Regions from separate parts of the Homo sapiens genome. Here regions 1 and 3 are each linked to region 2. Evidence: promoter capture Hi-C in 16 types of primary human blood cells and fetal thymus (Javierre and others, 2016). All regions are on one chromosome and are shown on one strand. The core of a region is centred on a gene start or on the middle of the fragment in contact, and the rest is flanking DNA. Distances in the headings are between cores, read along the strand shown.

Region 1 (4,660 bases), core at 400-2,899, 3.0 Mb before region 2:
GAGCGCCATTTTCCCCACAGGGGCGAGGAGGCGGCTTTGGTTCTCCCGGTGGGCTTGCCGGAGTGCGTTCTGCAGACCAGAAGGGCTTTGTCTGGCGATTGCTGAATGCTCAATAGCAGCCTGCTGGGAGGGAAGTCGAAGGGAGAAATAGGACAGAAAGAGAGACCTGACCTCTCCCTGGAGGCTCTCAGTGTCGGCCGAGGCCCTTGGTCTTGCTCTAGGGCTCTGCATTCCCGAGAGCTGCTGTATGCCGGGGATTGGCTTCCAAGCCTGCCTGAGCTTCTCCAGTCTCCCGGGCATCGCCATGCGGTGGGAGGGTGAGCCTTCCTCTCCTGCTGAAATTCCGGCGGCTTGGCAACCGGCCGGGGGGTCTTGGATTCCTCGGGGAGACACCACTGATGCTTTGTGGTTTCACGTAATTTGGATTTAAAAGTTGAAGGCGTCAGAAATGGTTGTCGCTACGGTCTTTTGTATGTTCTTGTGTTGCGAACTAATAAAGGAAAGTCAAAAGGGTGGGAGAAGCATTCAGTCTGGTTCCCTAAAGTTACTAAGAATGGATACAAATTAGTTGTGGCCGTTGCGGTTAATGCTTCTTGTAGCTCTTAACCCAGCCCTTTCTAAACCTTTGGATATACTTACTAGTCAGTTCCGAAGGTACTCAGTACAAATTTGCGTTGGCGCACCAGGCCGACTAAAGATGAGGTGGGTGTATTAGACTCAAAATTTCTTAAGTCGGCCAGGGGGTAGAATTGAGCTACCAAGAGAATGAGAGACTACCCTGTTGTAACAGATTTGGATCGCGCTTAGAAAAACAGGGAGAAAGCTGGATGATGTTCAACTTAATGTCTTGCATTTCAGACGATTATCGAATGGACGGGGATAAATAAAAACGATGTTACAGATAGCCCTCTAAGTGTGGATAGTAAATATTTTGATTTACAATTAAGCCTACCTTGAGGTGCAGGCCCTAACCAACGGATAGTTGAGTAATAGGGGCCTAGACGCCAATGGAAAGAAAATGGGACTTTAAGCTTTGTTTGAACATATATTCTGTTAATAAAGAAGTTTAAATCAGTTCGGATTACTGTTTTTTGTTTGTTTGTTTGTTTTTTGAGACGGAGTCTCGCCCTGTAGCCCAGACTGCAATGCAGTGGCACGATCTCAGCTCACTGCAACCTCCGCCTCCCAGGTTCAAGCGATTTCTCCTGCCTCAACCTCCTGAGTAGCTGGGACTACAGGCGCCCACCATCACGCCCGGCTAATTTTTCTGTTTTTAGTAGAGACGGGGTTTCACCATGTTGGCCAGGCTGGTCTGAAACTCCTGACCGCGTAATCCGCCCACCTCAGCCTACCAAAGTACTGGGATTACAGGCGTGAGCCACCGCGCCCGGCCCGGATTACTTTTTAAGCCCTTAAAATAAAAGTGTCACATATAAAAAATGGATTAGGTGGCCGGGCGCGGAGGCTCACGCCTGTAATCCCAGCACTTTGGGAGGCCAAGGCGGGCAGATCATGAGGTCAGGAGATCGAGACCATCCTGGCTAACGCGGTGAAACCCCGTCTCTACTAAAAATACAAAAAATTTAGCAGGCGTGGTGGCGGGCGCCTGTAGTCCCAGCTACTCGGGAGAATGAGGCAGGAAAATGGCGTGAACCCGGGAGGCGGAGCTTGCAGTGAGCTGAGATTGCGCCACTGCACTCCAGGCTGGGCAACAGAGCAAGATTCCGTCTCAAAAAAAAAAAAAAAAAAAAAAAAAAAAGGATTAGGTTACTTTTAACTGGAGGATTTTGCTCAGTTAAAATCAGTCTCCTACCCAATGGATACATTCTCTGTTACAAAGAAGTAGCCCAGCTGAAAAACAAATGGTTTTAATTTATAATTTCTGTTCCCTCCACATGTATCTGTGTTTTGTAATTGGAGGTGTTTTTTAACCCATCAGAATATTTTTATGCAGTTCCACTAAGTCCCATGCCTGTAGGCTACTCATTAAAACACTATAATACAGAATCTCAAGAATTTTTAAATCGCCCTCTTATTGTAGATAACAATTACAGGACATCTTTGTATCCCCAGAAGCTACTGAGTTGTTCTAAAAATTGAATGGCGATGATGGTGGCGGTGGATAGGATGCTATAATTGTAACTGGATTCAGAGAGAAACCTAATTCTGATTTGTCACAGGTAATGGAACGTTGTGTTAACAGTATTTACCAGTGACTATAGAACAGAGTTCAAATGTACATATATTCAGAGCCATTCATAAGCTTAAAATGTTATCCCATTCATCTCCCTTCCCTTATATCGTGTTATATCCGGTCAAATTAATGGCTTGAAAATGTTTCCCTGTCAATCAGTACTAGTCCAGGCTCTTAAATGCAGAAATTAAATAATTTCCCCAACTTCCTAAACAAGAGGTAACTTATTTGTAGCCCCCTTCAAAAACTGTTAAGATAATATTTTCTAAAACACTTCTTTCAGTAACTTAAAACTTACTGGAGAATTGGTTGGTTTTGGCATATTTATACCATGCTATAAGCATTAAAGTAGTATATATGTATACTATATATATATAGAAATTATATATGATATATATGTATACTATATATATAGAAATTATATATGATATATATAGAAAAAAGATAAACGATGAGTTAAGCTTAAAAGCAATTATTTCAGGCCGGGCGCGGTGGCTCACACCTGCAATCCTAGCACTTTGGGAAGCCGAGGCAGGCGGATCACGAGGTCAGGAGTTCGAGCCATGGTGAAACCCCGTCTCTACTAAAAATACAAAAATTAGCCCGGCGTGGTGGTGGGCGCCTGTAATCCCAGCTACTCAGCAGGCTGAGGCAGGAGAATGGCTTGAACCCCGGAGGCGGAGGTTGCAGTGAGCCAGGGTCACACCACTCCACTCCAGCCTGGGTGACAGAGTGAGAATCCATCTAAAAAAAAAAAAAGGCCGGGTGCGGTGGTTCACACCTGTAATCCCAGCACTTTGGGAGGCCGAGGAGGGTGGACCACCTGAAGTCAGGAGTTCGAGACCAACCAGGCCAACATGGCGAAATCGCATCTCTACTAAAAGTACAAAAATTAGGCTGGGCACGGTGGCTCACACTTGTAATCCCACCACTTTGGGAGGACGAGGCGGGCGGATCACAAGGTCAGGAGATCAAGACTATCCTGGCTAACACGGTGAAAACCCGTCTCTACTAAAAATACAAAAAATTGGCCGGGCACAGTGGCTCACGCCTGTAATCCCAGCACTTTGGGAGGCGGAAGTGGGCAGATCGCCTGAGGTCGGGAGTTTGAGACCAGCCTAGCCAGCATGGTGAAACGCCGTCTCTACTAAAAATGCAAAAATTAGCCGGGCATGGTGGCAGGTGCCTGTAATCCCAGCTACTTGGGAAGCTGAGGCAGGAGAATCGCTTGAACCCGGGAGGCGGAGGTTGCAGTGAGCCGAGATCGTGCCGTTGCACTCCAGCCTGGGCAACAGAGCAAGACTTTGTCCCAAAAAAGCAAACAAAAAGATAAATAAATAATAAAAATACAAAAAATTATCTGGGCGTGGTGGCATGCGCCTACAGTCCCAGCTACTCAGGAGGCTGAGGCAGGAGAATCCCTTGAACCTGGAAGGCAGAGGTTGCAGTGAGCCGAGATCGCACCACTGCACTCCCGCCTGGGTGACAGAGCGAGCCTCCATCTCAAAAAAGCAAAAAACAAAAATTAGCCGGCCATAGTGGTGGGTGCCTGTAATCCCAACTGCTCGGGAGGCTGAGTCAGGATAATAGCTTGATCCTGCGGGGCGGAGGTTGCCATGAGCCAAAATCGTGCCACTTCACTCCAGGTTGGGCGCAAGAGCGAGACTCTGTCTCAAAAAAAAAAAAAAAGTTTCATGCCGGGCGCCGTGGCCCACGCCTGTAATCCCAGCACTTTGGGAGGCAGAGGCGGGCGGATCACGAGGTCAAGAGATCCAGACCATCCTGGCTAACGCGGTGAAACCCCGTCTTTACTAAAAATTAAAAAAAAAAGTTAGCCGGGCGTGGTGGCGGGCGCCTATACTCCCAGCTACCCGGGAGGCTGAGGCAGGAGAATGACGTGAACCCGGGAGGAGCTTGCAGTGAGCCAAGATCGCGCCACTGCACTCCAGCCTGGGCGACAGAGGGAGACTCTGTCTCAAAAATAAATAAATAAATAAATAAATAAATAAATAAATAAATAAATAAATAAAATAAAAAAGAAACCTGTGAAAATAATTTTTTGAGATATAATTTGTTTATCATAAAATTCACCATTTTATACACTTGAGTATATATCTATATATATATACTCAGGTTGTGCAGACATCACCACTATCTAATCCAAAATATTTTATCACCCCTGTAAGAAACCCCATACTCATTAGCAGTCACTTCCATTCCTTCTTTCCCCCAGCTTCTGGCAACCATGACTAACTTTCTGCCCTTTTGGACTTATCTATTCTGGACATTACATTTTAATGGAATCTTTTTTGTCTGACTTCATTATAGCACAATGTTTTCAAGCCTCATCCAGGTTGTAGGGTGTTAACAGTACTTAATTCCCTTTTATTGCCAAATATTTGGTTGTGTATATACCCGATTTGTTTATCGATTTATAGATATTTGGGTTGTTTCCACCTTTTGGCT
Region 2 (4,515 bases), core at 953-3,452:
AGTGGCATTCATTACACAACTGTTTTTCTCTAGCAGTTTGAATGAAGGAATGGAAAAGACAGAATAAGTGGAATGATACAAAAAGATGGCCAATGGTGGCAAGAAAATGGGGTGATGGAATGATATGCTATCCAGGCTGCTGAATACAGAAGTAAATTACACAAAGTTGGGGGGCGGGGGAGGCAATAATGAGAAAAGAATGGAGAGGCTGGAATTAGAAATCACAGAATGTACTCAATGGGACCAATGTGGGGCAGATGATAGAAAGCTGGATTTAGGAGTTTCTAGACGAGCAGTGAAACATTAACGTAGCATTAAAGAAGTCCCGAAGATTTAGTTTTATCCCTTTTTATCATAACCATTGCCATCTACTTCTCCCTTCAGTTTCTCTTCCTCGGATTTGGCTGCATTGCAGAATATGGTCCCCAGCTCTCTCCCTTCCTGATTGCCCGTGAAGACAACCACACAGACCTTTGTTCAAAGGTTTTACTGCTCATCCTGAGAAGACTGTACATACTAAGAAAGTAACAACCTGGGGAAATGGCTGAAGTTCCAAAAGACTCCAGACTTCTTACAGGTTTCATCTCTCTTCTGTGGCCACTAACTTCCCAAGGAGGCAGTGCCCAAAAGCCCTGTGGTTTTTTGATCCGTTGTACTTCGATAGCTCCTCCTTTCCCTAGATCCAGCAGAACTCTAGACATGTAAGACATAGTTCACAAAACAACAGTTATGAACCAACAAATACTTGGCTCACGGTTATGAGCCACTGAAGTCAGTCAGACTTAAGGACAACTAGACAGAGCTCCCATTTTCTGTCATCTGGGCAGGAACCAATCTCCTGTTGTATAAAATGACCTTCTGGTACTTTCTGGAATCTTGCTTCCTCATCTGTTAAGTGAGGCTAATACCGCTTACTCATAGTTTTGTTGTGAAGATGAACTAAGAGCATGACATATTACCCGTTTTAAAATTGTACACACAGACCCTGCTTTAACCAGATGCCTGCAAATGCTCAGGTTTTCCTTCTACATATAGAAAACAATTTCTCAGCTGCCAGGGCTGAAGCCAGCAGATATGCACTAAACGACAGAACAACGGATTGTGCCAATAAAGTAGGCAAAGCTTCCTTGCCCAGAATATAAATCAAACTGAGTAAAAACTGGGTATATTGGCTCCAGGAAAAGGAGCAAGGACACCCAGCTTTCAGGCAACCTCGAATTCTCTCTGTTTAGGATTCACCAACCCCAAGGTCCACCGGGTCCTTCAATCTGAGGGTCCATCCAAGGCCTTCCTTCCTGGGGTTGGGTATGGCTAGCTGCCTGATGGAGAGACCCCAGGCTGTTCAGCAGCAACGCCTGGCACAGCCGAGGCAGCCTCGTAGTCTGCGATGCGGCGCTGTACCAGGGCAGGCATGAGCTGCACGTAAGCGGCCATGAGGCGGTGGTTGGAATGGATCAGCTTCCCAGCACAGCTGTGCAGACAGGCCTCCTAGAAGGAAGATAGGGTTTAAGTGGAGGATAAAGGTGCCCTGTCGGGTCCGCCTCCTTTCTTCCCCATGCCCAGCCTAGGGGTGAGGGTCGTGGGAAGGCCAGGGCCAGAGGTACGGGAAGTGGGGTGAGGAGGGAAGCAGTCTACCGCTAAACTCTTCTTGCAGCGTAACCTCCCTACACAGTTCCCCACCTCCTCAGCGTCCAGAGCTCGGTGGTGCAAGCTGGGCACACAGCGCTGGAAGCAGAGTTCTGTCATCCGATTGTAGACCAACAGGAAGTCACGCAGCTGAGAGAAAAGGGGGACCACAAACTCAGCGATAAGGGCCCCACACTTCTAGTCAAGGTCGCGCCGCCCAAAGTTTCCCAGGCCCGCGCGCCATAGCCCGAAGTTTCCAGCCCTCAAATCCCTGGCCCTGTGGGGTTCCCGCGATGTGTGCAGGAATGCGAGCTGAACGTCTGGCCTCGAAACGACTTAGTTCTCACTTACGTTTCGCAGTTGCTGTTGCTGCTGCTGCTGCCGCTCCATCACGCCACCGGCGCATGCCGTACGCCACTTCCGTTTCAGCTTCTCGGTGCCGCCCCGGAAGTAACCTCTCGCTGATCTCGAGAGCTAGCTCGAGTATCGCCCTGCCCTGGCTGCGACGTCAGCTCCGCCCTTATAATCTGCGACGTGGCCGGCTTCTTCTGCCCGGAGAGGACGTCATTTCCGCCGAGTCCCTGACCTGCTGCTAGGATCGCGACGGGAACTGGAGCCCGAGGTCCCCGCGCGGCCCGGGCCTGGCGCCCTGAGGGGAAGAGCGGCCCGGCCCGAGGTGAGAGGAACATGCTTGGGCGACGGGAAGTTGAACGCACAAACCTGTCCAGAGGGCAAGATGCCCCGAGCCCCGGGGAAGGATGAGGACACACCTGATGTCCAGGTGTATGGGGGTGGGGGCGGGGACTCACACACCTGGGAGACATAACTGACTGTGGAAGGGTCACCGATATCCTGGGAGAGAGAGGCTTTTACCAGAGACTGGGAACATACACCCACTGATCTAACTAAGGCCTGGTGGGGAGGGCCCGAGGAAGACGAGGTGTATGAGACGGAGGAGGGGAGACCCCCTGAAGGAAGGGGGAAGAAACGCTAAAGGAATGTGAAAGGCCAAGCAATGGAGAACAAACCTGAATAGGGGGGTGAAGACCTGAGCCCTGGAAAGGGTTCATCTCCTCAGCATAAACACGCCTGCATGGAGATAAGTTCTAAGAGAGCAGACTTTCCCTCTTCACTGTTGTATTTTCATTGTCACAAATAGTGCCTGACACATAGTAGGCACTCACTAAATGTCTGCTGAATGAGTGTAGAAATAATCACCAGAGTCCTGGTGAGGTTGGGGGCTTGTGAGAAGACACCGTGCTTTGGTGTGCCTGTTTCAAATGTGCGTTTTGGAGGGGAGAAATACATATATCTGAAGAAAGGAATGATGGCCAAACGCTGGGACACTCAAACCCTGGGACAGCCTTTAAAGAAATGACAGAGGAGGCCTCCTTCTTCTAGAGTGCTGGCCAGTGTCCAGAACTTCTGTGTTGGGCTTTGCAGGGTGCTGGGGTGGAGAGTTTTACTCCAATACCTTTCCTAGCCATGACGGACGGGATCCTAGGGAAGGCAGCCACAATGGAGATCCCTATCCACGGGAACGGCGAAGCCAGGCAGCTTCCTGAAGATGATGGGCTGGAGCAGGTGCTTCTGTTTGATTCTTCTAATTGTTTCAATTTAGGAATCCAATTTATAAATCCTAGGTTCTCACCCTCCATTCCAGTAGCCTTCCCCTGACTTATCTGACTCCCTTCATTCTTTTTACGTATCATTTTGATTCTGTGCAGACTTCCCTTGTGTACTATCTTTATGATGCTTGAATCCAAACTTGTTCCCACCTCCAAAATGCTTCTGCAGCCCCTATGTTCCTGAAGCAACCCCTCTTCTCTGGCCTATAGGACCTCCAGCAGGTGATGGTGTCAGGACCCAACCTCAATGAAACCAGCATTGTGTCTGGTGGCTATGGGGGCTCTGGTGATGGACTCATCCCCACAGGTATGAATGTTCAGAAACAGGAATCTTGGGTGGAGGAGGGGACAGGAATGGTTTGGGGAAGCATAGGATATGTCTAGGAAAGCTTGAATTATGTCTGGAGATCTTGGGAACTTCTGCTTGTAGGAACCTCATGGACTCTCCTCAGCCCAAAAGCAACTCCCAGCGTTGTCCATCCATTTCCCTTTTGCCACTTAGCCCCTGAAATGGCTCATTTGTCCTTTCCCTGCCACCACCTGAGTCAAGTTAAGACCTGCTTCACAGGAATGCCCCCCCTCTACAGCTTGAGGCTGAGTTGGAACTTTGTGAAGCTTCTCAGAATTTTTAGATTCTAAAGTTTAGAGGAACAAACAGCCCTGAATCTCACACTAAGATTCCACATGGGAATGCAACCAGGTTTCTTGTTATCATGACCCACCATCCTTGACTCCTGCTGCCCCCAAACTCAGTGTATTTTCTTCTGTTTCCTCTGCCCCTGTACACCAACAACTCCCTGCAAACCCCTCCTCTAACCCCCAAGGAGGCCATATGTATATCAGGATTTGGTTCTCACCGCGCAAAGTCCGAGTTCCTCCTAGTAAGCAGGAGCATCCAGTTGTCTCTAGCATCTCCTTCAGGGAAGTCAATTTCATGTGCTCGAAGAGAAGTATGGGTGGGGCCACAGAGGTGTCTGGTGTATCTGAGAGAGGCTGGTGTCAGAGAACTTGATCCTTTAGGGTCTGGCCGCCATCCATCTCACAGCACCACTCCTTCTGGCCCTGGAGATGAGGTGGCTCGGGGCATTGCTGGAGAAAAGTTTGACATCGTCAAGAAATGGGGCATCAACACCTATAAGGTAGGATTTAAGCACCTCTCCCTTCCCCAAAACTCCTTATGGGTACCTTTTTCCCTTTTCTTCGTGATCGTAATATCCCATCTGTGGCTGAGAGTAGGAGCCTGGGGGGTGCTGGGGTAGAT
Region 3 (3,935 bases), core at 1,169-3,668, 2.2 Mb before region 2:
CAGGCATGACCATCACGCCCAGCCTCCTAGTTCTGTTTTTACTCACTGAATTATATTGAACAAATAGCATGTTCTCTTTGAATCTGTTTTCTTGTCTGTATAATGAAAAAATAATGAGATTCATTCATTCGTTTTATAAATATTAATTGAGTGTGTACTATGTTCCTATGCTAGGTGCCAGGCAAGTGAGGGGCAGGTACAATTGTGAACAAAAGTCCTTCCCTAAGACTATGTCTAAGACATACATTAAACAAGCAAACAAATAATATATCACATATAACACAGCCTAGCAAAGAGTAGGTACTCTCATTACCTACTATTTCTCGCTCACATTTTCTCCCTAAAATGAGTGTTATTTTTATGATAATTTGTTCTGTACCCTTCATGCAAACAATCTTTGAAATTCTTATTCCCAATGTGATGTGGAATGACTTGTTCCATCATTCCTTAGCAAGGTTAAGGTACTCCAGTAAATATTTTCCTTTTCTTAGATATAGATGTGGTAAGATGTTAAAAGGAGGTGGTTTGTGGCAAGGCAATGTTTTAAAATTTAACTTTTTGTTAACATTTTAAAATGTAAATAAAAATAATTTCCTGGGTTTTGGAAAACTAAGATTTGGAGACATTAGACCCACATTCTTTTAAGTAAAGCACTTCGTTCATATAGATTGCCCAGCCCCTGTAGGCATTTGAATTTACTACCTTGGCTTAAGTACAGTCTTGCAAACTCTGTCCCCTACACTCTTCTAGGTCAGGGGAGATAAGAAGGAGAGGGAAGAACTAAGTTATGATGAAAGCAGCCATAAGAAGGGGGCAGAAATGGGGTCATTTGACCCTTCGTCTTCTCAAATCAGAAACTCATTGTGTGGCTGTGCCTTTAAATTAACCATTTACTTTCATGGAGTTACTTCAATTGCTCTTCTAAGACATAAATGAGATGCCTGTTTCTTTATATTCTTACCCTGTGTAGTACTTGCTGGTGGTGGAAAGCCATGCTACCTCCCTGAATTCCCAGGATTGTGATGCAAGGTCTAATGCAGTAGTTCTCCAAGTGTGGTCTGTAGACCTTATGGGGTGGGGGGTCCCTGAGACCGTTTCAGGGAGTTCACAGGTCAAACAATTTTAATAATAAAGCTAACGTGTTATTTGATCTTTTCACTGGGTTGACATTTGCACTGATGGTGCCAAAGCAATGTTATGTAAAACTGCTGATGTTTTGGGCACCAAACTGGAACAAAACCTTATATTCTTTACCACTAAGCATCTGCCGGTTAAAAAAAAAAAAAAGAAGTTTACCTTAAGAATGTCCATCCATGATGAAGTGGTAACAATTTTTATTAAATCTCAATCCTGAAATTCTTAAGTACTTTTTTAGATTTCTTTTTGATGTTCTGTGTGAAGAAAAAGTATTCCTACTACATATCAAAGTGAGAAACTGTGCTTGTGCTATTGAGTTGCAAGTTAAACTAGCCTTTTAAAAAATGAAACATAATGGACGATGTGGTGGCTCACGCCTGTAATCTTTGGGAAGCTGAGGCGGGTGGATCACGAGGTCTGGAGATTGAGACCATCCTGGCCAACATGGTGAAACCCCGTCTCTACTAAAAATACAAAAATTAGCTGGGCGTAGTGGTGCATGCCTGTAATCCCAGCTACTTGAGAGGCTGAGGCAGGAGAATCGCTTGAACCAGGGAGTCGGAGGTTGCAGTGAATCAAGATCACGCCACTGCACTCCAGCCTGACGACAGAGCGAGACTCTCTCAAAAATTAATAAATAAATAAATAATAATTAAAAAAATAAAAAGTGAAACATCAGTATTACACGAAAGGACAACTGGCAGGCCGGGTGCGATGGCTCATGCCTGTAATCCCAGCACTTTGGGAGGCCAAGGCAGGTGGATCATCTGAGGTCGGGAGTTTGAGATCACCCTAACCAACATGGAGAAACCCTGTCTCTACTAAAAATACAAAATTAGCTGGGTGTGGTGGTGCATGCTTGTAATCCCAGCTGCTCGGGAGGCTGAGGCAGGAGAATCACTTGAACCTGGGAGGTGGAGGTTTCTATGAGCCAAGATCACGCCATTGTACTCCAGCCTGGTTAACAAGGGCAAAACTGCATCTAAAAAAAGAATAACTGGCAGACAAACTGTGGTTATTCAGGCTTGGGAATTTGTCCGATATTTTCTCAAAAGTGAATTGACAGTATTTGTTGCCAATGATAAAATTCAAGCGTTCAAGCAAAAGTTAGAATTCTGGTAGTTTTTGCTGCCTCCATGAATTTGGCAGCTTCTCAATGCTTAAAAGAATTTTCTGATGAGATTCGAGGTGATTCTAAAGAATGTGATTTTTTGTTATTGTGTAATGAAATGTGTCGATATTTGGAACATCTGCATAAGTCATTGAACTGGTATTTTCCAAATGACCAATGCTTGGTGTTAAAAAACTGTGCCTGGGGAAAAGACTAGTTCAAAGAGCAAGATCAGCAGATTTTAATATAACAGAATAAGAAAAGTTTGGTTCAGAGTCTACCTTATAAATAACATTTAAGAAACTACTACCACTGTTGAATTTTGGTGTGGTATCAAAGAATATCCACAATTACCTGATAAGGCTATTAAAGTACTCCTATCTTTTCCAGCTGTATGTCTGTGTGAGACTGGATTTTCCTCATATACTGTGAACAAAACAACATATAACAGATTGACTGCAGAAACAGGTATGGGAGTCCAGCCGTCTTTTATTAAGCCAGATGTTAAAGGGTTTGGCACATATGAGAAACAATGTGACTCTTCTCATTAAATTAATTTTTTTGAAAGTAGTTGATTTTTTTTTTTTAGGCTGGGTGCAGTGGCTCACGCCTATAATCCCAGCACTTCGGGCGGCCAAAATGGAGGATCGCTTGAGTCCAGGAATTTGAGACCAGCTTGGGCTACATAGCAAGACCTGGTCTCTACAAAAATAAAAATGAAAATAAAATAGTCGGGTGTGGTGGCACATGCCTATAGTGCTAGCTGCCTAGGAGGCTGAAGCAAGAAGTTTGGTTGAGCTCAGAAGTTTGAGGCTGCAGTGAACTTCGCACGACTGCCCTCCAGCCTAGGCAACAGAGCAAGACCCTGTCTCAAAAAATAAATAAATAAATAAATGGAAAAAAGGAAATAGTTATTTTTTCCAAAAAGTATGTTATTCGTGTTAACATATAACAAGTTTATTATTTTATGAAAATTAATGTTTTAAAATTTTCTCAGCTTTAACTTCTAATGTGGTAAATAGCAATAGATTTTCTCAGCTTTAACTTCTAGTGTGGTAAATAGCAATAGTTCACATAAATGAACTCTCTTTGGGGTCTTCAATGAGTAAACATATGTAAAGGGATTCCCAAGACCAAAAAGTTTGAGAACTACTGGCCCAGTGAAATAAACTCAGGCATGCTTGAACCTTCTAATAGAGACTGTCCTCGTCTCTAATCATGCTGCTGCTATGGCTGTTTTCTGCTAAATAATGCCCAGAAGGAATTAGAAGTGCAGGTCTATCTATAGCTTTATGTAGTGGCATCTTTCTGGACCCCAGGCAGCCTGGCCTCTCCCAGCCCCATCACCCTTCCTCCTTCCTGAAGGCTTGGCTCCTAAAGACTTCAGACTGGAGTGAAATTTTTCTCAAACTTGCATAATTACCAAGACCCAGATTTGAATTAAATGATTTGTATTTTGTTTCTTAAATAAGTACAAATATAAAACTAGCTACAACTTCCTTTGGCTTTTAGCTGTTATACAACTATAAAACTGAATATAGTTTACAAATTGTAAAAAACTACAAAGCCATCAAATTAATAATATTAATTTCACATGTATGTGATGTTTTTCTAAACTAAACTATCATTATGACTTAAATGTGGTGCTCACTCTTGTAGCTAAGTTCAGCAAACATATGCCACAATG

The links. Contacts are between HindIII fragments. The CHiCAGO score rates a contact against its expected background, and 5 or more counts as called.
Region 1: a fragment that was not itself captured here is called in contact with the fragment with the promoter of ARFIP2 in region 2 in 1 of 17 cell types (activated CD4 T cells); the score reaches 5.3 in activated CD4 T cells.
Region 3: a contact is called between a fragment that was not itself captured here and the fragment with the promoter of ARFIP2 in region 2, in 1 of 17 cell types (fetal thymus). The highest score is 5.3, in fetal thymus.

What each region holds. Positions count from the first base shown.
Region 1 is chr11:9,455,970-9,460,629 of GRCh38, reverse strand. ZNF143-AS1 (ZNF143 antisense RNA 1) reads left to right here. Exons shown (of 1, transcript NR_036539.1): 1 at 1-1,074. Among named protein-coding and RNA genes, the nearest start is that of ZNF143-AS1, 2.4 kb to the left of the region's middle. RefSeq lists enhancers at 5-84, 145-244, 335-414, 614-1,249. The HindIII fragment of the contact is 1,232 bases long and covers 1,034-2,265 here.
Region 2 is chr11:6,479,018-6,483,532 of GRCh38, reverse strand. It overlaps ARFIP2 (ARF interacting protein 2), which reads left to right and starts at 2,202. Exons shown (of 8, transcript NM_001376558.2): 1 at 2,202-2,302; 2 at 3,070-3,210; 3 at 3,465-3,561; 4 at 4,275-4,393. The coding sequence starts at 3,112. It overlaps TIMM10B (translocase of inner mitochondrial membrane 10B), which reads right to left and starts at 2,032. Exons shown (of 3, transcript NM_012192.4): 1 at 1,978-2,032; 2 at 1,681-1,776; 3 at 1-1,488. The coding sequence starts at 2,016. The coding sequence ends at 1,312. RefSeq lists enhancers at 1,924-1,973, 2,454-2,573, 1,410-2,609. The HindIII fragment of the contact is 2,521 bases long and covers 1,125-3,645 here.
Region 3 is chr11:8,673,587-8,677,521 of GRCh38, reverse strand. TRIM66 (tripartite motif containing 66) reads left to right here. Exons shown (of 25, transcript NM_001388022.1): 4 at 2,639-2,716. Among named protein-coding and RNA genes, the nearest start is that of TRIM66, 7.1 kb to the left of the region's middle. The HindIII fragment of the contact is 5,452 bases long and covers 1-3,935 here.